Regions from separate parts of the Homo sapiens genome. Here all the other regions are linked to region 1. The links are contacts of gene promoters, found by promoter capture Hi-C in blood cells and fetal thymus (Javierre and others, 2016). All regions are on one chromosome and are shown on one strand. The core of a region is centred on a gene start or on the middle of the fragment in contact, and the rest is flanking DNA. Distances in the headings are between cores, read along the strand shown.

The links. The method cuts DNA at HindIII sites, captures the fragments that hold promoters and counts their contacts. A CHiCAGO score of 5 or more calls a contact.
Region 2: a fragment that was not itself captured here is called in contact with the fragment with the promoter of SEMA3D in region 1 in 1 of 17 cell types (total B cells); the score reaches 6.0 in total B cells.
Region 3: a contact is called between a fragment that was not itself captured here and the fragment with the promoter of SEMA3D in region 1, in 2 of 17 cell types (total B cells and naive B cells). The highest score is 12.0, in total B cells.
Region 4: a fragment that was not itself captured here is called in contact with the fragment with the promoter of SEMA3D in region 1 in 2 of 17 cell types (naive B cells and total B cells); the score reaches 8.5 in naive B cells.
Region 5: a contact is called between a fragment that was not itself captured here and the fragment with the promoter of SEMA3D in region 1, in 2 of 17 cell types (total B cells and naive B cells). The highest score is 6.3, in total B cells.
Region 6: a fragment that was not itself captured here is called in contact with the fragment with the promoter of SEMA3D in region 1 in 2 of 17 cell types (total B cells and naive B cells); the score reaches 5.9 in total B cells.
Region 7: a contact is called between a fragment that was not itself captured here and the fragment with the promoter of SEMA3D in region 1, in 2 of 17 cell types (total B cells and naive B cells). The highest score is 12.2, in total B cells.

What each region holds. Positions count from the first base shown.
Region 1 is chr7:85,185,414-85,188,889 of GRCh38, forward strand. It overlaps SEMA3D (semaphorin 3D), which reads right to left and starts at 1,643. Exons shown (of 19, transcript NM_001384900.1): 1 at 1,265-1,643. RefSeq lists a silencer at 1,455-1,514. The HindIII fragment of the contact is 2,551 bases long and covers 94-2,644 here.
Region 2 is chr7:85,434,528-85,438,003 of GRCh38, forward strand. The region is part of intron 1 of LINC00972 (long intergenic non-protein coding RNA 972); the gene reads left to right. Among named protein-coding and RNA genes, the nearest start is that of LINC00972, 15 kb to the left of the region's middle. The HindIII fragment of the contact is 6,012 bases long and covers 1-3,476 here.
Region 3 is chr7:85,416,687-85,420,162 of GRCh38, forward strand. No RefSeq gene overlaps it. Among named protein-coding and RNA genes, the nearest start is that of LINC00972, 2.7 kb to the right of the region's middle. The HindIII fragment of the contact is 5,665 bases long and covers 1-3,476 here.
Region 4 is chr7:85,366,128-85,369,603 of GRCh38, forward strand. No RefSeq gene overlaps it. Among named protein-coding and RNA genes, the nearest start is that of LINC00972, 53 kb to the right of the region's middle. The HindIII fragment of the contact is 1,089 bases long and covers 1,176-2,264 here.
Region 5 is chr7:85,346,837-85,350,312 of GRCh38, forward strand. No RefSeq gene overlaps it. Among named protein-coding and RNA genes, the nearest start is that of LINC00972, 73 kb to the right of the region's middle. The HindIII fragment of the contact is 2,479 bases long and covers 451-2,929 here.
Region 6 is chr7:85,023,544-85,027,019 of GRCh38, forward strand. The region is part of intron 12 of SEMA3D (semaphorin 3D); the gene reads right to left. Among named protein-coding and RNA genes, the nearest start is that of SEMA3D, 160 kb to the right of the region's middle. The HindIII fragment of the contact is 9,941 bases long and covers 1-3,476 here.
Region 7 is chr7:85,326,213-85,329,688 of GRCh38, forward strand. No RefSeq gene overlaps it. Among named protein-coding and RNA genes, the nearest start is that of LINC00972, 93 kb to the right of the region's middle. The HindIII fragment of the contact is 1,365 bases long and covers 1,049-2,413 here.

The DNA of each region.
Region 1 (3,476 bases), core at 393-2,892:
GTCTTCTCCCCTCTTCTTTTGCTTGTGCAAATAGCACTAAGCTAAACGGAAAGTGGTGGGGTTTTGGTGATGAAATAAGAGTCCACGCACAGAAGCTTGCCTTTTATTACCGCTTCGCTCGAGGCGAAATCGCTGAAAGTTCGGCTATTTAACTCCTGTCCCCATAACTCGGAATCCCGGACACCAGCGGCCCCAGCTGCTGGCGCGCGGCTCTCTTCCAGTCCCCTGGATCCCAAAGCTCCCTGCCACAGCGCGGCGTCTCCTCCTCCTGTCAACTTCCCTCCTTGCACTGTGACGGAGGCAAAGCAACTCAGCCCAGGAGGTTGAACTCGAGTCATCAGAGAAGGAGAAACAGTGCCGAAAACGGCCCGTGCGCTACCAGGGTAGCCCATTAACGCATTAACTCCAGGCTCGTTGGGCAGAAGCCGGGAGGAAACACCCTGGGGACCGCACTCCTGGTTAAATGCCCAGCACGAGTCAAATCCGGCCTTTCCAAAGCGAGCCAAGCCCACTACTACAAAGAGATCCCCCGAGTGTTTTGCCTTAACCACATTTCAGACAGCCAGCTTTGTGGCTGCTGTTTGACTCCAACTTTCCCTCTAAATCTAAAAGGATGCACACTTCCATCAGACGGAACGTCGCGATTCCCCGGCGAAGAAAAAGGCGTCGCCCATTCCTCTTCCAAAACGCTACAACAAAAACCACCACGCTTCCCTTCCTTCTTCCTTGCCCCTTTCCCTTCTCCCAGACCAACAAGGAAAGGAGCGAGCGAGGGCGCAGATGCCCTTTGGTCAAGTACTCCCCGGATGTTCCCGACTAAAGCGTCTCCAAATGAACCTGCAGCCTGCGGAAGCCGGGGACACATTCATAGACGCTCTCTGCTGCCCAGACCAGGAGGGGTGGTGGGGGAACCAGGAAGCCAGGGAGAGAGCAAAGTTCCTGGACGCGTCTCAGGAGGAAAACTTTGTGCAGTGCTGCCAGGCGGAGGCTCGTCAGAAGGCTCCGCAGCTGCTGAGGCGGGGTGGGACTGCGCCCCAGGGGCCGCGCTGAAGCTGGCGCCGCGATTACTGCGCACCGATTTCGCCCACTCTCTGTCCGCTCCCGGGAGCCTTCTCTGTCTCAGGACGGTTCCTTATCTCCCAAACCATGCTCGTCCTCCACTTCGGACCCACAGCCACCCCCAAATCCCGGCTATCCCCGCTTAGCACCGCGGTCTCCAGCACACCCTCCCACTGGAGTAGCAGGTGACCCAAACCAGACTTACCTGCTGTGAACTCTTCTCTCCCTCTCTCTTTTCCTGGTGCCTTTTCAGGGAGAGGGGAACGGGATGCAGGCTGAGGTCCAGCGGCGCGGCAACCCGGGGCACCGGCGCGCGTTCCTCTGAGCCGCAGCCCTGGCTGAGCAAGCGGAGCCGCCGGCAGCCCTGGCAGAGCCGGGAAGCTGCGGCCGCAGGGGCCAGGCCGGGAGGCAGGGGGCGCTGCTGCCTCCCCCGAGAGCCGCGCTAGGACAGGCGGAGAGCAAGGCACCAGCTGGAGCTTTGGGGAGGAGAGGGTGGCGAGGAAAGGCACGCTCCAAACAGGAGGGCGGCTTTTAAGTTTGTGGTGTGACCGCAGCAGCTGTCCTGGGAGAGACTCAGTCTTTCTAAAAAGAGGATGCTGAAAACGCCGGGGATTACCTTTCCCCTTCCGATCTCCTCCCCCAGCCCTCGCCCCCTCCTTCCACTGCGCACGCCAGAACTCCCAAGCGTGCAGAAGTTCATCCCTGCTGCGCGGAGGCTGCCAGCAGCGTGGATTTAGAGGTAGCCCTGGCCAAGCGCTGACGGATGTTTATCAGGACAGGGCACCCTATGTGTAAAGCAACCTCTAACGTCTGATCTTCCTTCTGGGTGACTTGGGGACTTCTTTAGTTCCTTCTCTATACCATAAAACCTGTTAAGGGACCCCATGAGGAAGAAACAGGGAGAGTGACCACAAACACCGTCCTAAAAATGCTAATCCCACAAAACAGTACCTGCGTTCCACTATGTAAAACCTCAATCCACGGTTAATGGCCTTGACAAGGCAGGCATAGGGATGAGGAACAGGGATCAACCCTCCGTTAAGGGGCTGGCACCCGATTAAGACCAAACAGGGAGAGATAAAAACGAGTAGAATGTAATCCTTTCTTCCTCTTTCCCTTACGCCAGACCTACAAAGAGGTGTGCCTCATATCCTTGTCTTCGGGAGTTTTTTAGATTTTTGCACCCCTTATTCACACAGTAGGAACTTAGAAGTATATAATGACGAGAAGATCTAAGTTTTGATGAACCTGGATCCTATGCAATTGGAATAGAGGATCCTCTTTAAGCAAAAGTAATGCAGAAATATCTCACTTCTACAGATTCTGCAAAAATATATGACAATGAGAGTTCATGAGGCCACCGTCAGGGACATTAAAAAGGCCTGTGCATTTGGTGAGCCCTGTACGTTAGGCATTTTTAGCTGCATGGTAAATCCTTTGTGATGGGATATCCAGGTTTATAGTCACACACCTTGCCCTTAGTCCCAAACATAAATCTGACATGAGGTAGAGACATGGAAAGCAAGCAGCCACGGGATCCTGCATTTGTCAGCTTGATTTAAGAGCACAAGGTGTAGGGTCCCAAAGCTTCCTTAGCAAGTAACAAGAGATATCTTGATTTGGAGATGGTGAACAGACAAATGCAGTAATGGAATAACTGAAAGGGGTGGAAGACATTCTTCATTTGACCTTTTATCTGTGGCAGAGGGCTGAGGGCCACAGAAGCTAAAGGAGTCATTTTAAGTTATAAATGGTTGATGGCAGAGTCAGGCTAAGGAAAGGCTCAGGTTTCTCAAATCTGACCAAGGCTCTTTCTTGTGTCTCATGCTGCCCCATCTCTATAACCTTGGTTTGGACTCACAACCAATCAACCCCATAAATACCCTCTTTGGATAGAGAAAAAAATTTTAAATCCTCGTAGACTATTTCAAACTATAGCAACTTTTATTTTTTTTCTGAATGCTTTATATTTAATGTTATACCACTCATTCTGTACATAGTCATGCAATTGTTTATTGTATGTTTCTATGTGTTTATATTATTTTCATTTGTATATGTCATTGCACTTCCATGCAAATTGCAATGTCATTGTGCAAATAAAATATCTCTTTTTTTCTCCCGTATATGGTGGGTTTATAGTAAGTAGTTTTTGATTTTTAGAAAATCTCTATTTTTAAACTTTTAAATAATTTTGTCAGTTTATTGGCCAGAATTTTGTGTTTAACTAGAATTGTGGTTAACTTTGGATTTCCCATTTTCCTCCTTTCTCTTTTAAGTTGTAGCTTAATATGCTTAAACCAAATGACACCTTCCTTTGCTACCATTCAATACTTTCCATAAAGCCCTTACAGAATTAATCACTCCCTCCTGTTTTCCCAAAGCACTTTGATTTCACTACTATAATAAGCTCTTTTCAC
Region 2 (3,476 bases), core at 614-3,113, 250 kb after region 1:
CATGACTGAAAGGGGCCAAGGTTATAAATAATTATAACAGCTTGGGCTGTTGCTTCAGAGGGTGGAAGCTCCAAGCCTTGTCAGCTTCCATGTGGCGTCTAGCCTGCCAGTGAATAGGAGTCAAGAATTGAGGTTTGAGAACCTCCACCTGGATTTCAGAAGATATATGGAAATGCCTGGATGCCCAGGTATAAATTTGTTGCAGGGGCAGGGCCCTCATGGAAAACCTCTGCTAGGGCAGTGCAGAAGGGAAATGTGGGGTCGGAGACCCCACACAGAGTCACTACTAGGGCACCATGTAGTGGAGCTGTGAGAAGAGGCCACTGTCCTCCAGGCACCAGAATAGTAGATCCACTGACAGCTTGCACCATGCATCTGGAAAAGCCACAGACACTCAATGCCAGCCCATGAAGCAGCTGGGAGGGAGGCTCCACTCCTGCAAAGCAACAGGAGTGGAGCTGCTGAAGGCCATGAGAACCTACCTCTTGCATCAGTGTGACCTGGATGTAAGCGAGGAGATCATTTTGGAGCTTTAATATTTGACTGCCCCACTGGATTTTGGACTTGCATTGGGCCTGCAGCCTCTTTGTTTTGGCCAATTTCTCCCATTTTGAATGCCTGTATTTACCCAATGCCTGCACCCTCATTGTATCTAGGAAGTAACTACCTTGCTTTTGATTTTATGGCTTATAGGAGGAACGGACTTGCCTTGTCTCAGATTAGATGTTGGACTGTGGACTTTTGAGTTAATGCTGAAATGAGTTGAGACTTTGGGGGACTGTCAGGAAGGCATGATTGGTTTTGAAATGTGAAGACATGAGATTTGGGAGAAGCCAGAGGTGGAATGATATGGCTTGGCTCTATGTCCCCACACAAATCTCATCTTGTTGCTCCCATAGTTGTGGTAGAGACCCAGTGGGAGTTAATTGAATCATGGGGGTGGGTCTTTCCTGTACTGTTCTTATGATAGTGAATAAGTTGCATGAGATCTGATGGTTTTAAAAATGTGAGTTTCCCTGCACAAGCTCTCTCATTGCCTGCCATGTAATATGTGGCTTGCTCCTCCTTGCCTTCTGTCATAATTGTGAGGCCTCCCCAGCCATGTGGAACTGTAAATCTATTAAGCCTCTTTCTTTTGTAAACTGCCCAGTCTTGGGTATGTCTTTATCAGCAGAGGGAAAATGGACAAATATACCACCTGACAAAGGATTAATAACCAAGATATATAAGGAGCTCAAACAACTTTATAGGAAAATAATTTAATAATTCAATTAAAAAATGGGCAAAGTATTTGAATGGACATTTCTGAAAGAAGACATACAAATAAATGGAAGCAGATGTAAGAAAAGGTGCTCAGAGTAATGTGAATCAAGCTACAATAAAATATCATGTCACTCTAGTTAAAATGGATTATAGACAAAAGAGGCAATACCGAATGCTGGAAATTATGTGGAGAAAAAGGAACCCTTGTACACTGTTGGTGGGAATGTAAATTAATACAACCACTGTGAAGAACAGTTTGGAGGTTCTTCAAAAATTAAAAATAGAGCTACCATACAATTCAGCAATCCCACTGCTGGGTGTATACCCAAAATAAAGGAAATCACTATATCAAAGAGATATCTGCACTCCCATGTTTGTTGCAGCACTGTTGACAATAGTGAAGATTTGGAAGCAACCTAAGTATCATCAACGGATGACTGAATAAAGAAAATGTGGTATTTATACACAATACAGTACTATTCCGACATAAAAAGGAATGATATCCTTTCATTTGCAGCAACATAGATGGATCTGGAGGTCATTATGTTAAAGGAAATAAGCCAGGCACAGAAAGACAAACATCACATGTTCTCACTTATTTGTGGGATCTAAAAATCAAAACAGTTTAACTCATGGAGATAGTAGAAGAATCATTACTACAGGCTGGGAATGGTAGTGTGGGGGTTGGGGGGGAAGGTGAGGATGGTTAATGGGTACAAAAAATAGAAAGAACATGTAAGATCTAGTATTTGATAGCACAACAGAGTGACTATAGTAAAAAATAATTTAACTTTACATTAATAAAAACTAAGAATATGACTGCATTGTTTGAAATACGAAGGGTAATTCCTTGAGCGGATGGACACCCCATTTTCCATCATATGATTATTATGCATTGCACGCCTGTGTCAAGATATCTGATGTACTCCATTAATATATACACCTGCTAGGTACCCACAAAAATAAAAACAAAGAATTGTCCCAAATCATTTTTAGCAAATGCAGTTATCAATTGGTTAGTTTTCTTTCTCCATTGATGTTCACATTCTCCACAAGACTGAAGCTATTCCATTTGTTTCTTATTTTTGTCAACACACTGTAACTATGCTGACGAACTATCCTGTGTCTAATTATTGTGCTTTGTACCCGAGAGAGACTGCAAGGACATAGACACCACCATCACCAGGACAAAGCAATTCAGGGAAGAATGTCTTTGAATTCAAATTTCAATCACATTATTTTTTAATCATGAGATTAAAGATATGGACAAACAAGACCTAATGTGGGACCTGGAGACAGTGAGAGTGGGGTGTTTTGCAGATGTTTAAAAGTTACTGAGAATTACGTGTATATACAAAGAAACTGTGCCTATTATCTCTCTGTGAATGCCTCCAAAGCAGCATTACCCAGACATATGGAACAGGTTTTTCTCTTCCCAGAAAGAAACTAAAATTTAAGAAGAAATAGAACAAGCAGACAGAGAATTCATTTATTGTATGGCTCCTGTGGACCATATTGCACAGGGAATGACACTGGGTAAAACCCCCATGCAAAAGTGGCTTTTATAACTAACCAACTCAACCATATGTTTAAAGCATTTTAAATTTCCCTAGAGTTGACTCTCAGAAATAAAACCAAGGACTCTTTAGTTAGTCCAAAGAAGTTTAATGTAACTTTGAACAAATTTCTTACAGTCAAACATTTTCAAGGAGCCCAACGATCTACTAAAGAATTGAGATTACACTGCAACTCCTAAATCAGCAGAGACTATAATTATGCTTTAATTTTTTTATATCACCTAGCACTCTAGGGGAAAATTCTGGGTTTGTTTCAAAGGTTAGAAGGTAAGGATCAGAAAGCCTTTTCAACGGAATATTTTTTGTTTCTTAAATAGAAGGCACACATACACACAGATCGATTATTTTTCATGTGATTCAACAGCAACATATGATTTCCAGCGAACATCAATTTTTTAATAAAGGATGAGTGCAATATAAAGAGCAAAACTATTAAGTATTGCACAACAAAAGAAAAACAAAAGATATTTAGTACTTCTTTATGTACTCCAAAAGAAAGACTAGAACCATACCTGCTTTTCAGTTGTTTGATTGCCCCCACTGTATATATTTGCCCTTGTTTATAGTCTCCAAAATTTTCCTTCTTGGCAAACTTCATTTTCAGCAGCAGAAGGCAAATTAGACATGTAAAGGAGT
Region 3 (3,476 bases), core at 418-2,917, 230 kb after region 1:
CACATTCCAAATTCAACTACCCAATTTCTAACTGAGTGTTCTTTAATTCCCAACCCCTTGGACCCTAGTTTCTTCCTCCATAAAGTTAGATAATCCTACATGTGTAAAAATGTTCCCAGAAATATATATATATAAGATAAAATAGAGGGTTTCATACACTCATCAATTTTTACTCCGAGTGTATCAGAGCTCAGTTTTATCTATTGCTTCTTATTTCTTATTTCTTCTTATTATTATGATTTGAGATGGGAGTCTTTCTATGTTGCCCAGACTGGAAGGAGTGACTCAATATACAATGTTCTCACCATCACAATGAAATACCTGACCCCTTCCTTTTTATGAAAAGGGCTAGAAAGTCAGTTACAAAGGAGTGACTGGATTTATAGTAGTCTCACCATAACAGTGATAACTATATGGAGTAATGCATGTGTCAATTAGCCTGATCCAGTCATTCCTCTCTCTCTCTCTCTCTCTCTCTCTATATATATATATATATGAATTGAAGTATATATATATGAAGTATATATATATATATTTCAATACATTGTGTTCTACATGATGAATATATACAATTTTATCCTTTTTTCTTTTTCTTTTTTAAACAGATGGGGTCTCACTATGTTGCCTGGAATGGACTCACACTGTTGAGCTCAAGCTATCCTCCTGCCTCAGCCTCCCTAGTAGCTGGACCTACAGGCACATACCACAACACCTGGCCCTATTTTATCTTTTAACTTAAAAATAAATACAAATTTTAAAAAAGGAGTTAGAAAAACATAGTAAACATAGCTGTATTTAAACTATATATAATGTAATTATTATTTTAACATAATGCTTGGCATATTTAAATGAATGTAACTAATTAGTGAACCTTAGGCTAATTTCTCTTAACTATCAAATTGTGTATCTACCCTCTCAGTAACCCCACATGAATATATGAAGGATATCTCTAAGTTAATATGGTCAAAACTGAAACCCCAAACATGGTCTCCCTGACTCTTCCTTATTTCAGTAAAAAGCATCATCGTCTATATATTTGCTAAAGCCAAAGTACAAGAGATCGTCTTTTTTTTCTTATCTCCTCTCAGCTTCAGCAAACTAACCTCAAAATCCAAACAAGTATCATCAAACTCACCCACAAAATATATCCCTGAATCTGTTTATTATACTTCAGCTCCTTTAACAATCTCCAAAGCCATCATAATTTCACCCTAGTTTCGCCACCCTAATTCCATTACGTGTCATTATTTTTTTCTAGTTTACCAAAGAAACCACCAAACAGATATGTTTACTGTCAATCCATTCTCCACAGGAAAGTCTGAGTGATATTTTAAAAAGAAAAAAAGTCATGACAATCACCTACTTAAATATCTCCAGTGGTTTTTCTCAGTGTTTAAAATACAATCCAGATATTTTATGTGTGGAAATCTCTACCAGATCTGTCCCCAGCCTACCTTCTCAGTGTCAACTCATATCACAAGAACACTGATCATCTAACTGTTCCTCAGACAGGTAAAGCCTTCTAAAATTTCAGGTTCTTTGCAAGAGATTTTGGTATATCTCAAAAGCATCCTTCTTGTTTTTCAAAAAACTGTTTTTCTTTTGGCATTCAGTCCAAGGGTAAACGATACCTCTTTTTGTTGAGCTTTGTTTGAACTGACCATGTAGAGAAATCAATCTGAGTTTGGATTATCTGCCTGGCATTTTTCATATTAGGTTAATAATCTGTGGTCTGTTCTTTGCCTGCTAGCCCTAGATTGCAAGCTCAATGGGCAATAGTAAATAATAAATCAATAAATCTTGAATAAATAAATGGATGAAGAAGAAACTGATAAATGCTTGGCTTATTCTATCTATCTTTCTTTTTTTTTTTTTTTGATGGTTCTTTTTTTTTTTTTTAATTATACTTTAAGTTTTAGGGTACATGTGCACATTGTGCAGGTTAGTTACATATGTATACATGTGCCGTGCTGGTGCGCTGCACCCACTAACTCGTCATCTAGCATTAGGTATATCTCCCAATGCTATCCCTCCCCCCTCCCCCCACCCCACAACAGTCCCCAGAGTGTGATATTCCCCTTCCTGTGTCCATGTGATCTCATTGTTCAGTTCCCACCTATGAGTGAGAATATGCGGTGTTTGGTTTTTTGTTCTTGCGATAGTTTACTGAGAATGATGATTTCCAATTTCATCCATGTCCCTACAAAGGACGTGAACTCATCATTTTTTATGGCTGCATAGTATTCCATGGTGTATATGTGCTACATTTTCTTAATCCAGTCTATCATTGTTGTTTCTTTCTTTCTTTTTCTTTTTTTTTTTTTTTGAAATGGAGTCTCACTCTATCGCCCAAGCTGGAGTGCAGTGGCATGACGTCGGCTCACTGCACCCTCTGCCTCCCAGGTTCAAGCGAGTCTCCTGTCTCAGCCTGCCAAGTAGCTGAGACAACAGGCGCATGCCACCATGCCTGGCTAATTTTTTGTATTTTTAGTAGAGACGGGGTTTCACCATGTTAGCCAGGATGGTCTCGACCTCCTGACCTTGTGATCCGCCCGCCTTGGCCACCTAAAGTGCTGGGATTACAGGCATGAGCCACTGAGCCCGGCCAATTCTATCAATTTTAAAGTCAGTTGAAGGCTAGGCTGTGTACTGCTTCCTGTGGCACTCAGCAAAATATTTTGTACAGATTTAGTAATCAATGAATATTTTTGATTAAATAAAATGTACCACGTCTCTTCCCCCCCCTCCCCCCCGGAGAAGGAATTTCAGCACAGCAGTTTTCTTACACCATGTAACAGGTGTGTTGTTTCTGATTTTACCTTTTTTGCTGAATTGAGAACAGGTGTGCCATTTCAGACATTTCTCCAGTTGCATATTTAGTAGTAAAATAAATACAATGAGTATTTTATATTAATGTAAAAAATAGTTTTATGTTAAATGACATATGAACATATCTACAGTGACTTAGAGATTGTGAATCATTTCACTACAGTCTTAATTTCTAAGTTAAATCCAGCAGCTTGCATGTGCTAGCTCAAGATTAATTAAGAAAGACGTATGAAAATAAGATTATTTGGTTAGCAAAAAGTCATAGAATTTTAGAGCTAGAAGAGAATTTAGAGATTGCTAAGATTTGTGATTTCTTATATTAATAAATTGAAGGCCATAAATGTTATTGGCTTGCCAAGTTTCTTACAAATATATTTAGTAATCTCTTACCAGTCTTGATAGTTACACTTCTAAAAATTCTGTGTTTACCAAAGTCATTATTAGAAAATCAAATAGTTAATTTTAAAAGGAAATCGAGAAAAAAAGTAATAAGACTGCATAATTCACAACAGCTTATGATGTCTTCATTTAAAAATTAATCAGATTCATGGTAGGAAAGAGCCACTCAAGTAGCTACCCTTTCTTAAGCATTATCTCTTCAGAGTATTCATGAATACAGTCCCATGATCTCCTGAGGCAGATTGCAA
Region 4 (3,476 bases), core at 470-2,969, 180 kb after region 1:
TTGCAAGAGATTGAGAAAAATTGATGTTAGTCTTTTTTGAAATGTTTGGTATAATAAAGCAGTGAAGTCATAGGTTCTGAGCTTTTATTTGATAGAAGGTGTTTTATTACTAATTCCATCTCCTAACTAATAGTTTGTCTGTTCAAATTTTCTATTTATTTATAATTCAATCTTGGTAGTTGCATGTGTCTAGGAAATTATTCATTTCTTCTAGGTTATCCAATTTTTGGTGTATAGTTGCTCATGGTAGTCTCTTATAATTGTCTGTATTTCTATGTGAATTGTTGTAATATCTTCTCTTTTATTTATAATTTTATTTGAGTCTTCTTTTTTTTAGTAGTTAGTCTAGCCACAGGTTTGCTGATTTTGTTCTTTTCAAAAATAAAAAAAACTCTGAGTTTTGTTGATCCTTTATATTATTTTTTCTCTCTTATTTATTTCTGTCATGATCTTTATTATTTTCTTTACTAATTTTGAGCTTAGTATATTCTTGTTTTTCTACTTTAAGTGTACTAAAGATTGTTTATTTGGAGTCTTTCTTCTTTTGGGATATAAGTATTTATTACTATAAATTTTTTTGTTAGAACTGCCCTTGCTGCATCTCATAAGTTGTGGTATATTGTGTTTCCATTGTCATTTGTCTCAATATATATATTAATTTTTTAATTGCTTCTTTGACTCATTGTTTTTCCAGAAACATGTTGTTTAACTTCCAAGTACTTTTTAACTTTCTGAAATTGCTTCCATTATTGATTTCTAGTTTTACACCTTTGTGGTCAGAAAAGATACTTGATATAATTTCAATCTTCTTAATTTTTTTTAAGATTTGTTTTGTGGACTAGCATATCATCTATCCTGGAGAACAGTTCACCTGCAGTTGAGAGGAATATGTATTCTGTAGCTGGATGGACAGCTCTGTATATGTCTGTTAGATTCATTTGGTCTAAAGTGTAGCTCACATTTGATGTTTTTATAACGATTTTCTCCCTGGAGAATCTCTTCATTGTTAAGAGTAAAGCCTTGAAGTCATTTACTATTATTGCATTACAGTCCAATTCTCCTTTTATTAGTATTTGCTTTATATATTTAGGTGCTCCAATGTTGGGTGTATATTTATAATTGTTGTATCTTCTTCCAGAATAGACCCCTTTTTCAGTATATTTAGCTGGACCTAAAGCTTATTTTATCTCATAGAAGTGTAGTTACTGCTCTCTTTTGGTTTCCATTTGCTTAGAATATCTTTTTTTCATCCCTTGATTTTTAGTGTATGTGTGTCCTTACAGGTAAAACAAGTCTCCTGTAGACAGCATAAAGTTGGGTCTTGTTTTTCCATCTAGTCAGCACTCTATGCCTTTAGATTGAATAATTTAATCCATTTACAAATAAGGTGATTATTGGTAGGTAAGTAATTACTACTGCCATTTAAAAAAATTGTTTCCTGGCTTTTTTGTACATCCTTTGTTTCAGTCTTTCTCTTTTGTTGTCTTACTATGTGGCTAAGTAATTTTCTCTAGTGAAATGTTTTGATTCCTTTATTTTTATCTTTTGTGTATTTACTATAGGTTTATGCTTTGTGGTTATGATGAGGCTTACAAAAAACAACTAATAGTTATAAAAAGCTATGTTAAACTGAATTTATACTGATTTCATTTAAAAACTACATTTTTACTCCAGCATCAGTTCTGATATTTTAACTTTTTGATTTCACAACTTAAATGTTTCTATATTGTATGTCACTTGCCAAATTATTGTACCTATTATTTTTAATAATTTTATCTTTTAACCTTCATACTAAAGAGATACGTGATTTATGTAATATCATTACAGTATTAGAGTGTGTGATTACTTTTTCCAGTGAGTTTCATACTTTCATGTTTTTGTGTTACTATTTAGCATCTTCTCTTTCAGTTTGAAGAACTTCCTTTCTCATTTTTTTGTAATATGCTAATAATGAAATCCCTCAGTTTTTGTCTGGGAAATGTCTTATCGCTTCTTAATTTCTGAAGAAGAGTTTGTAGATACAATATTCTTAGTTAACAGTTATTTTTTTCTCTTTAGCACTTTCAATATATTATCCCATTTTCTTTTTGCCTGTAAAAATTGCTTCTGAGAAATCTGCTGCTAGTCTTATTAGAACTCCCTTATATTTAATTTGCTTCTTTTCTCTGAATGTTTTCAAGATCCTTTGTTTGTCTTTAATTTTTGACAGTTTTGTTATATCTTGGCGTAATCTTGTTCCAATTGAATCTGATTTCAGACTTTTAAGCTTTTTGTATTTGGATATGTATATCTTTCTCCAAATTTGGAAAGGTTTCTGCTGTTATTTCTTTAAATAACCTTTCTAATAATTTGTTTCTCTTCTTCACACAACCCTATAACTCAAGCATTTGTTTCTTCGTATAAACAATGATAACTTGAATATTTGCTCTTTTAATGCTGTCTTATAAATCCAGTAAGCTTTCTTTAGTCCCTTTTATTCTTTTTTATCTTTTGTCCTCTGACTGTATTTTTAAATAACCTGTTTTCAAGTTCACAGGTCTTTCCTTCTGCTTGATCAATTTTGATGTTGATATTCTCCTGCATTTTTAATTTTAATTGTGGAGTTTTTTTCAGCTCTAGAATTGTTTTTGGAGTTTTATTTTAATTTAATTTATCTGTTAAATTTCCAAGTTTCATATTTTAGTACTTTCTTGATTTCATTGAATTGTTTCCCTCTATTTTATTGAAGTTTCCTGAACTTTAAAATAATTATGTCCATGGTGACTGTGAGGTCTCCTGCTGCAGGATTCCAGGGATCCATGGTGAGAGCAGGCCAATCCTTGCCTGCTCAACTCACCCCTTCCCCAGGAGTTACCGGAGGCCAAGAATGTATTCCAGTGTGACACAGCCCCATGCAGGGATCCCAGCTTCTTCCTCTTTCAGACCAGAATCTGTTTCCTCCTTCCATCCACTCTCAATGTCTTCCTTCCAAAGATGTGCTCAGAGTTTGTCAGTCTTCCTTGTGTCCCATTCCGTCAGTGGCAGATGTTCCCCCAGCTGCATCTAGTTGGACACCTTCCTTCTCTGCTTTTTTGAATATACTTTAAAGGTAAAGTCCAGAATATTTTCAGATGGATAGGATATTGGTATAAAAGACAGCTACTCAAATATTGTAAACTGCAAGGCTACATAAATTCACCAAAGGATTAATCACAGATTGAGAAGAGGACTATGTTAGTCTATTTTGCATCACTATAAAGGAATGTCTAAGACTGGGTAATTTATAAACAAATATATATATTTGGCTCGTGGTTCTGCAGGCTGTAAAAGCAAGGTGCCATCATCTTCTGAATTTCTGGTGAGGACTCAGGAAGCTTACAGTCATGGCAGAAGGCAAAGGGGGTGCTGGCATATACACGGTGAGAGCAGGAGCAAGACAGGGAGGTGGAAGTACCAGATTCTTTTAAACAACCAGATCTCATGTAAACTCATAGAGT
Region 5 (3,476 bases), core at 440-2,939, 160 kb after region 1:
ACATGTCAGTGGGTTAGCGTTTGAAATTCACCTGGAAGAATGTTACTTGATTGAAGAGTCTCAAGGGTAGAAAGTCTCAAGGATAGAAAATGAAATGGCATTTAATGAAGAGACAGTGTTTTAAAGACTATAGCTTCATAATATGTTTTAATATCTGGTAGTGTTAGTCCCATGTCAATGCATTTTTCCATTTTGGGAAGCAGAATTTCTAAAGAAGTATTTTTGCCTGTTCATTTATTTTTCATGTGAACTTTATAATCTGCTAATTTAGTTAAGGAGAACTCTTACTGATAAATTATAAAAATTGCATTGAATTTTTAGATTAAATTCAAGAGAATTGGTATAATACTGGGTCTGAGTCTTCCGATCCACACAAAGGAAAGTTTTCCTTTTTAGCTCTCATTAGTATTTGAAAATTATCTTAATGTAGATATTACCCATTGCTTCTTAAGCTTAAATCTAGCTGTTAGTAAGTTCTTTTTGTGTGTGTAAATTAGCCAGGCCTGGTTTCTGTCACCTGTACTGAAACAGGTGAAATATAAATTAAGAAGGTCTCTATTTATCGATGGTGGATGGGGGGGGCAAGTCTCTAACGTGATTTTTTTTACACATGGATAAATGCAGCACTCTTTAAATTTACAGTTTCAAAGTTGTTGGTTGAATAATAGCAAATTTGCATTGCAGACAATAAGCCTTTTCTTGGGAAACTGGATCAAGAACTAGGTTATATTCTTTTTGATACTTAATATTAGACAATTCAGATAAATTTTGGAGGCCCCAAATTAGATCAAATGGCAGAAAAAATGCCCAGATATTTAGAAGCAAGATATTTTAACTAGTGAGCCAGGACCAGTGCCAAGACCAGAATTATTTTGGGGATGGGCTGTTGTCAGACAACTGAATTCCTTCTCAACTGTCCCTTTGGCATAGTGTGTATGTTCTTGGAGGAAAATTTGGTATGTAAGTGTGTTTTATGGGCATCTGTGAAAATCAGAGGGAGAAACAGAGCTAGGGAGAGAGAAAAAGACAGACAGAGATAGGCAGCTAATTCATAAAGCTGTAACATGGAGCGTACAGGAGAATTTTGACAAATAGTAGTTGCAGGGTTTTTCCACCCTTATCCCTAAGGACATATGTTGCTAAGGGCACATGAAAATTTTACATGTGATCATGAGAATATTATGTAAATTCAAACTGAAAAACTGAGGGAAGAACAATCCAGACTGAACTTATAAATAATAGTAATCTATATAATTTTTAAAAGTAAGATATTTTATATCTGAAGATGAAGTTTTAAGATATATTGATAGCAACTGCATATGGAAGTTTCCTATTTTATTAATATCAAATAATTTATTAAGTAATATATTTTGATTTATTATATTTTTTAAGTTAGTATATTATTAAAAAGTGATTTATACAATAAAAATATAAGAAATAAAATATGTATGAAGTAAAAAAAACCCATTCTTAGTGACTCAAACTAATGCTATTAAAGGTACCCAATGTTAACAATTTTGTGAATATCTTTTTAATATTTATTTCCTCTATATATTATATTTAATAAACATATAATCTTATATATGATATCTTGAACATCATATTTTTTACTCAACCTCTCATGAAAATTTCCACTTCAGCATACATACATCAATCTCTTTCTAATGATGTTTCATATTGTATCACATTCTACATGTATTGCACCATATGTTTAGTGCTTTTATTGAACTAAGTACTGAAATACAAAATTTCTAGACAAAATATTAGTTAACTTAGTAGAGTAATGTTCATTACAGAAACTATGAGAAGATCATAAAATGTTGGTAGTGTTTAGTTTTCAAAAACTCTGAGTCTCTCATGTCTTTGATTCCATAATCAAGTCTCTAGTCCCATGTCCAATCTATAAGACCAAAGTGCAAATATACAGAATTTCTGGCAATCGGTCAGAGGTTTTACTCTTCATGTTTCCATAACTACTTGATTCTATTCCTAACTAATATGAATCTTATGTTCTGTGGATCTTAGTCTCATTCCTGCATCTTGCCCGTTATATTTAAGATGTGTATGTGGTATCTCCAGTATTTGACACTTTCTAGAAGAATATGACTTAAATATTTGGATCAAGGCTCCATGCTACAGTGGGAAGAGTAGCAATCACTGACACTTTATTATTCAGGAATCTTTACTGGACCAGTGCTTATATCACCATGGGGGAGGGCGAGTGAGTTTGGAATTTCATATGGGCCATATACAATTGAGCAAATGGAGAGTGAAGCTGGGTTTGGGGCTTTGAAAACAAGGGTTAATATAAGGCGCATTCATGTATAAAAGTAATAAGCCTATTTTTAAGTCTTTATTTAATAAGTGATTTTTGCTTAAGGATATTGATAAAATATTTTCGTTAGGTTCAAAATATAAATATAACTGTGTTGGATTCTAGCAAGATAATCTTGCTGGAGTGAATTAAATTACTTTGGTTATTCTGTCAAAGTTTCTTTGAAGAGATAAATCCTGAGCTATGTTTTAATGCTGAAGGAATGGTTCCAGGTTATAGTGGAAGTTCCTCGCATGGACAAGGTATGGCATGTGTGATGATATTAAGACTTGTGTGTTTATTAGCATCTGCTTTCCAAAATGTTTTTATATGCATATTTGTAGGGAAGAGAGAGGCTGAACAAAGACAAAGAAGGAGCCAAAGCTGGAATGAGTTTAGAAGACAAAGAAAGAGGTGCTGCAAATAGTTTTATTGGTTTAAATTTATATAACCTTTGTGAGGTTTTTCATTGCTTCACAATGTGGAAATGTATGTTTCTGCCATACATGCATGTGTAACTTGCCATGCATATTTATTTCTGTATGAAATCATCATTTTGGTAACTCCTTCAGGACTCAAAATGAATTTGAGATGCATTTATAGCACTATTTTGTAAGCTTCAAAAATAGTCTAGCTGAAATGTCTTAAGCCACAAACAATATTTTTCTTCAAAGTAAATCCATCACTGAATAAAACTCAATATAAGTATTTCCAGGTAATTTTTGAAAGTTCTGCATGAGTAGTTGTAATATTTTGTATCTATAATTTCTGTATTTGAAACATTTAAGAGCCTCCTTGAGTTGGGATGGCTGCTATATATATATATATATATATATATATGTGTGTGTGTGTGTGTGTGTGTGTGTGTGTGTGTGTGTATATATATGTATGTATATATGTAGTTGGACTTAAATTAGTAAATACTTCAATATGAGATTCCATTTTTATCCCAAAGGCAGAGAAGTAGTAAACAGTTAAGAGATATGTCCTAAATAAACTAAAGTCATATTATGACCTAAATGAAATAAAATATTGATTTATATCCAATAAGCCTCTAATTTATTTTCAAGATTGAATACTAGAATTTACATCCTAGCTATGGATGCCAGAGATTAAGAAAATGTGTGTATTTGATATTTTACTTTCTCCTAAAAGTCTGCTC
Region 6 (3,476 bases), core at 644-3,143, 160 kb before region 1:
AGAATAAAATGATTGACAGTAAGGACAGATTTTTTTAATGGTGCTTTTCTTTGTTTCAGTTTTTAGAGAAGTTGGAAACAGTCTCCATGGAACTGAACCATTTAAACTTGGCACTAATTAGAATCATGACAAGGCTCCAAAAACATAATGTACTTCTCAAAATATTCAAGAGGGTCATTCTTAGGGAGCTGAAGATACTAGAACTAGTCCCAATATTTGACTTTGACCCCAAATTTTATACCAATAAAATCATAATGGCTTATTATGAATTAGAAGAAATATCAAAGAGGTTGTACTAAAAGTCTGTTAATGTTTTTCTATAAATAATTTAAGAATATCTTTATCTTTAACAAAAATTTTCAATGTCTGGTATTAAGAAACTGATACTTTCTGGATATTTAGTTATTTGTCCCAGGTCTGTACCAGAGAGATTAGAAACGTCCTAGAATATTATCCACTTTGCATTTACTTAACATATTCTTAACTGGATGTTGGTCTAAAGATCTAAGTCTGCACGTTCAGTCATTATTTCCAGCACTTAACCTTCAGCCAAGCGGAATCCGTCAACTCAATAATGGAAGAACCTTGCATTAAATAGATTAAGCAGGGACTCAAAATGGATATGGAGCTCAAATGATACAAAGCTCTTGTCCAATTATAGGCTGCATGTTTGAGGCTCAGTCAAAGACAATTCATAGTAGGCTTATAATGCCTATGGTTCAATCTGGTTGGTGTATCATTAAAATCAAACCCAGAGCAAGATTTTGCCTGCACACAGTTTTTAAAAAGCCCTCCAACTTAAGAAAAAATCACTTTTGACTTTGCAGCTGTAGTTGTGCAGTAGCCAAAGTTTTCAAAGAAATAATATCATGACATTCAAGCCGTAGTTTTTGATATCAAATTGTTAAATAATTAGAAATTTTAATGCAAGAAAGTATAGCTGAATGAAAATATGAACACTTAGAAAAAATAAATATGAATTTTCCTCATTGCTCCGACAAAAATGGTTTAAGTGTAATAAAATCTAAGGCGGAAAAAAAGGAAGGAAAACCTGGTTTCTATTGACTATAAAATGATCTTTGAAAATATATATTTTTTCTTATGGCAGCTTTTCCTCATGGCATGTTGCCAGTGTTTGGACAAGATCTTTATCCTCTCAATTGCTATGCATGATATCTCAGGTCTGCGTCTCCACTATGCTTGCACAAATGAAAATGATTTGGTAGAGTTACTCTCTGAGGTTTAGGATAGTACAGTTTGAATCAAATATTGTTATTTCAGTACATTCAAACCAGTGGAATTTTTGCGTTGATATCATATAGCTGTGCTGCACACAGATCTAAAAATAATGAGATGCCAAGCAATGTATGTAGGTAAGAGTAAAGTAGGAAAGAAAAATTTCGTAAAAGAAAAGAGAAAGTGTAGGGAAATGATACATCTAAAGCGGATGGTCATTCATATTCAGTTATTTTCCTTTAACAAATTCTAGAAAATTCTCCTATGGCAGCTATACATCTCAGGTATTAGAAATCTAGTGGGTTTTTCTCCGTATGTATGTACTTTTAATTTCTAGGTATTAACACAGCCCACCTGAACATACCATACGGGGACATTTATTTCTGCCTCCAGTTTTCTTAATTTGCCAGATTAGCTCCTAGGAGAGTAGGAAATAAATCAGGAAACTTATCTGTGTCTCTACCCGCTGTTGTAAAATACTCAAAGACAGTATTCTTCTCTTGTGCTGGAAATATTAATACCAGCACAAAAGAAGAAGAGAAAATAGAACCTGCCTAGACACACCCTGAGATGAAAGTGGAAACCCAACAGCAACCAGCCCTGGTTCAGGGCCTATCTCCCATGGCTGGCTGCCATAGCTGGCTAGGTGTGATCATGTTATGCTTGGCAAGTCTGCGTGTTTGTCTAGGGCCTTTAGTAGTGGAATGGGAAGCAATGGATAAGAGGAGAAAAATGGTTTTTATCCAAAGAGAGAACTTTTCCCCTTGGCAAAGCCCCAGACAGCTGTCAAAGGTTTTTTCTCCCCGCAGCTTCAGGCTATTCTCTACAGGTTGCAGTTTCCTTTGAAACAAGTCAGAGGAATGACTAATGTGAGGGAAGACATGGCAAAAGAAAGACTGAACTAGGCTTTCATTTTCAGAAGCCTGAGTTTTATTTATAGAGTAAAAATGCAAATGTAACAGTTGCCGTCTTATACCCCTGCTTATTCATCGAAGAGTCAACCTACAACAGATAAAGGCAAGGAAAGACCCTGTATTAAATATCAGAGACAAAGAGGCCGGGGCAAACATACAGAGGTAATTTCTCTCCTTCCCTCTCCCTCTCCTTTTCTTTAAGGTTCCCTTTCTCTTAAAGGAATTTCTATGCCAGAAAAAGCAAAACACTATTGAACATAGTAAATAGCCTGGGATTTGAAGAACTTCATTTTAAAAGCAAATTGTTTGCCCTCTGGAAAATAAAGCTGAAAGCCAGTTGGGAAGGTTAATTCCTTTTGGAAGCCCCTTGACTATCTCCATTTTAGGGAAACATGGCCTACACACAGTTAAAGGGAAATGATAGTGATATTTTGTGATACGTGTCCTTTAGTGTAATCTGTTTTAGGAATCTGGACTCAGGATATCCAGAGTCTAGTCCTGCCTCTGCTTCTCCCTTCTAGAACCAACACCAGGAATGAATGAACAGAACTAGAGATATCCTCAGTAATTTAGAGAGATGATAAAGTAATTGTTATCCAATAAGTGGAAGGTGATGGAGTGAGCAAATATTAAAGAGAAAATAAAACTGTGAATTCAATATGATAGAGAGACATGAGTGAGCCACTGATGCCTATAATGAGATATCCCCAAAAGTTTTCCACAGATTTTGAATTAATTAGGAAAGACTTGCTTAAATGAAACAAACAATAGCAATAAGATGTTAGCTACATTCCTCAGGTACACAAATGGGAAGATAGTGTGAGACATTATGAGAGAATTCCTGCATCATACTCTGTAGTTTTCAGTCTCCTTTGGTAAGACTATCATAGTCTAACACTAGACAAATTAATAGAAAGTTCTGGATATTATTTTTGAATTACATTTTTTTCTTTGGTCAGTTACACCTATGTTTGAAAGTCAACTATAAAACATGTCTTTTAAAACTCTTACTTAATGGGATCAGCATAGTTTACAATTAAAATCTAATGTATGAGGTTAAGAAATACATATATTCTGAGAACCATCAGCTCCTTAGGAAAAGAGTGTATTTAGAATCATGCTAAAGCTCAAGTAAAATAGTTTAGGTGGGGCAGAAAGAGAAAACAGGGTAGCTAAAAAGTTTTGAACTTGTGGAATCCATGGTTACCTCAAACCCCTGCTGTTGAGAAGATTAAGCAAGGTAAAAATTGGAATTTCTAAGCAATATTCCAGTTCTAGTTGAAGAACACATTACATACTTCAAGTCCACTATGGAAACCCAATTGT
Region 7 (3,476 bases), core at 481-2,980, 140 kb after region 1:
TTCACTCAAGGTCCTTACATCAGTCATGGAGATACATCATCTTAGAAAAGGATAACAACTGTAGTTTATGAATATTAAAGATGTTAAAAAATGATGAATTATAAGATTTTATTAAAATGAATATCACTCACGTTCACAGTAATTTAAAAAAAAATGTTGTTTTTCCCTAGGGAGAAAAAGTTTATGTATACATGCAAATACAACGTTATAAGAGCATATCTCAAGAAATGTATTTTAAGGTTTTCAATGGTCAACTCCTCTGGCACGAATTATACCCTCTAATGATGTGCACTTCCTATGACAGAAGCCTATGTTCCGAGTATCATCTCTCTGTAATAATGTACATATTAAGGAAAGTATATTTTATATAAAGCACAAGATGTATCAGTAGAGAAAAGCTATTTAAGTAATGTCTCTTGATAAAACTACTCATAGTTAAGATATAAACACACATGTCCTCTATCCAGAGATGTAGTTCCTACAATTCCATGATGTCATGAAGGCATCTTCTCATAGAGAAAATACCTCTCTCTGGAAGAACTTTTATGATTCACCCTGTCTTACATAGCAATTAATTTGTAAACGCTGAATTTATATCTCATTATTTTTTAATTTGGCTGTTGTTTTTTACCATTTGGGCTCTTTGCTCCAGAAAAGCCCCAATCCCATCATTGTCTTGATCCCCACATGACAGTTTGACTTTAATCTTAGATTTCCAGGCCACAGATCTCCTCAGGTTTGACAAAGATCATGCCAAAATTAGTCTATTTCACCAAGCAATACGCATAATACCACTGTCACTTTTTAATTCACCTTAATATTCCTTGACCCGGGCTCAGTAAAACAACAATTAAGAAAAACAAATGAAACACTCAAAGTAACTGATGAATCAGAAGCAATGCAATGAGGAAATACCATGATGAGTTTGAGGCTACAGGATTGGATTGTTTCTAGACTATCATTTCAATGTTTATTCATTTTATCAATGTTCTGGTGTTGGCTATACATAGAGGTAAAGTAAATACAATAACAGATTTTGCACTCAACAAGCTTATACTTTGGTAAAACAGACATCTAAACAGACAATGAGTGAATACAAGAAAACAAATAGATTTCAAGAGAAAGAATTTTTGAGTTCAGCATGAGACATGTTGAGATTTGAGTGCCTAGGAGACATTGCAACAAGTATTGTAATTCATAAATGTTGAACATTATGGATTAATACGATCAGAGATTCGTATAGTCATTCATATGTGTATTTAGCAGCTTAAATGATTGGAATGTACAAATAACTTAGTGAGGGTTTATAAAGTGAAAAAAAATGAGACTCAATGACAGACTCTAAATAATCTCAACATTTTATTGAGTTAAGATACCAACAGTGTCTTAACAATGTATCGATCAATTCATCTATTAATCAAACATGGTTATTTGCAGGTTTTTTTCTGTTCATATTCTTTGCAAGACAGTAATATATTCTCTTTTAGCAGTTCGCATTCCATTTAACCTTTTCAATTGGCAAAACTGAGGCAATTCAGAAGTTGAAAGATATTTCAGAAGTTACTCTCATAATGAAGGATAATTGAACTAAAATTCAGGAAAGACTTTTAATATATTATGACTTCTAACCTTCTTAATCTTATCATAATTGAAAAGACAGAGCTTGATTGACAAACATAAATGTAGAAAAAAATCAGCATAATACTTTAATGGCTAATATTTGCCACAGTTCTTATCAAAATCATATTACTAAAAATTATAAAAAGTTGATAAAATATTTGGCTTATTACAAAGTGAAAAAAAGTAAAGTTTTTGCTTTTTTTACTTGCTAATATTCACCACTCTTCTGGCCTGAACCCCATTTATCTCCATTGGCTTTACATGAAGACATGTGAAGTCTTACTCTGTCAATAACATCATCCTAACATTTTTTTCCTACTAAATTTATAGAAAATCAGTTCCTAAAGAAAATTAGAGGGATTACCTTTACGCCAGTGTAAAGCAATGTTATTTCAGGTGTTTTCCTTAAGGAGCAGCATATTTGTTAACAAATTTTTTTCCCAATATGACATATGGCACTTGGAACAAGTACTACATCTGAGCTTTCACAAAAGAAAATAATGTCATTTTATATCTGATTGAACTTACCTCCTTTTTATGTTCAAGAAGACTAAAGGAACCAATTTCAACTGTTTTATTTGTGGCATTTTTTTTAACAGAATAACTCTCACTAAGAGGATATTTTTAAAATATATTGTTAGAGTAATTATTTAAAACACTTTCTAACTTACAAGCAAAATTTGCGCAACAAATAAAAAACACTTCTAAAAAAATTCTTTTGGCATATGCTTGGATGGAGTAATTTCATGGCTGCCTTAAATAAATAATGGAAAATAATAATATGGTTCTGAGAAGCTTACCACTTAGTGGGTCAGACTAAAAAGTAAACAAATAATGACGATATGTAAAGTGACAATTATACAAAAAATTATATACAGTGATAGGATAAACACAGCCAGCCTGCATCACTTGTTCAAGTGGGGAAGTCTGAGTTTAGATAGGACTATGTGAAAACAAGTATTTCCTATTTGTTTACAAGGATCATGGGCACAGCATCCGTGATTTCACCTACAGTGGTTAAACACACATAAATTATTTTTATCCAAAATGACTTTGTTTGCCTAGAATGATTTTATGTGGTTGATTCAAATGTTTATATTCCATGCATATGTTTCATAAATAATTATCTCAGGAATGCTGGAAGTAGGTCAAAGAGATATGTACTGTGATAGAGGATATAGGGCAATCATAGCAATCAGTTTTGGAATTTTATAATAATTGTGTAGTTGATTTTGCATTCTTCTCATTTTAAATCTATGCTTAAGTCTCAATGAATGTTGTCTCTATAAAAAATTCAAGAGATGTTTGCCATAATAAAATTAATTTGTCATGCCAACTTTCATCCAACTTCCCACAGATGCTGGGGACTCCATCTCACCATCATCATGAAAAATGTCCAGCATATTTATTTTACAGATGTGGAAATTAAGACCTACAGTTAATGACTTTTCTAGATTTCTATAAATGATAAATATATAATCTTCATTAAAAGTTAAAATACTAATTCCATATTTATAAAATAAGGAACCAATGTGAACAGGGTGATAGTTGTCCAAAAATTGAGTGCAAGGTAAACTCTTTTTTTTTTTTTTTGGGTTATTTATCATTGTATATTTTGATTGTTACCCCAAATTTAAGAAATTATTAATGAAGAGCATAACTTTTTACATATTAATTATGATAGTTAATGATAGTTATTCATTTAAAAAGTGCTTGCAAAAAATAATTGTGGATGATTATTTCTTCCTGATTTTATTTTCAAATGTTTGTGTATGGAACATTGTTTTGGAAGGAAAGATTTAGCAGCATCACTCAGCTTATAATTAGTGTCAGATTTTTTTTTTTCCAATAAAACT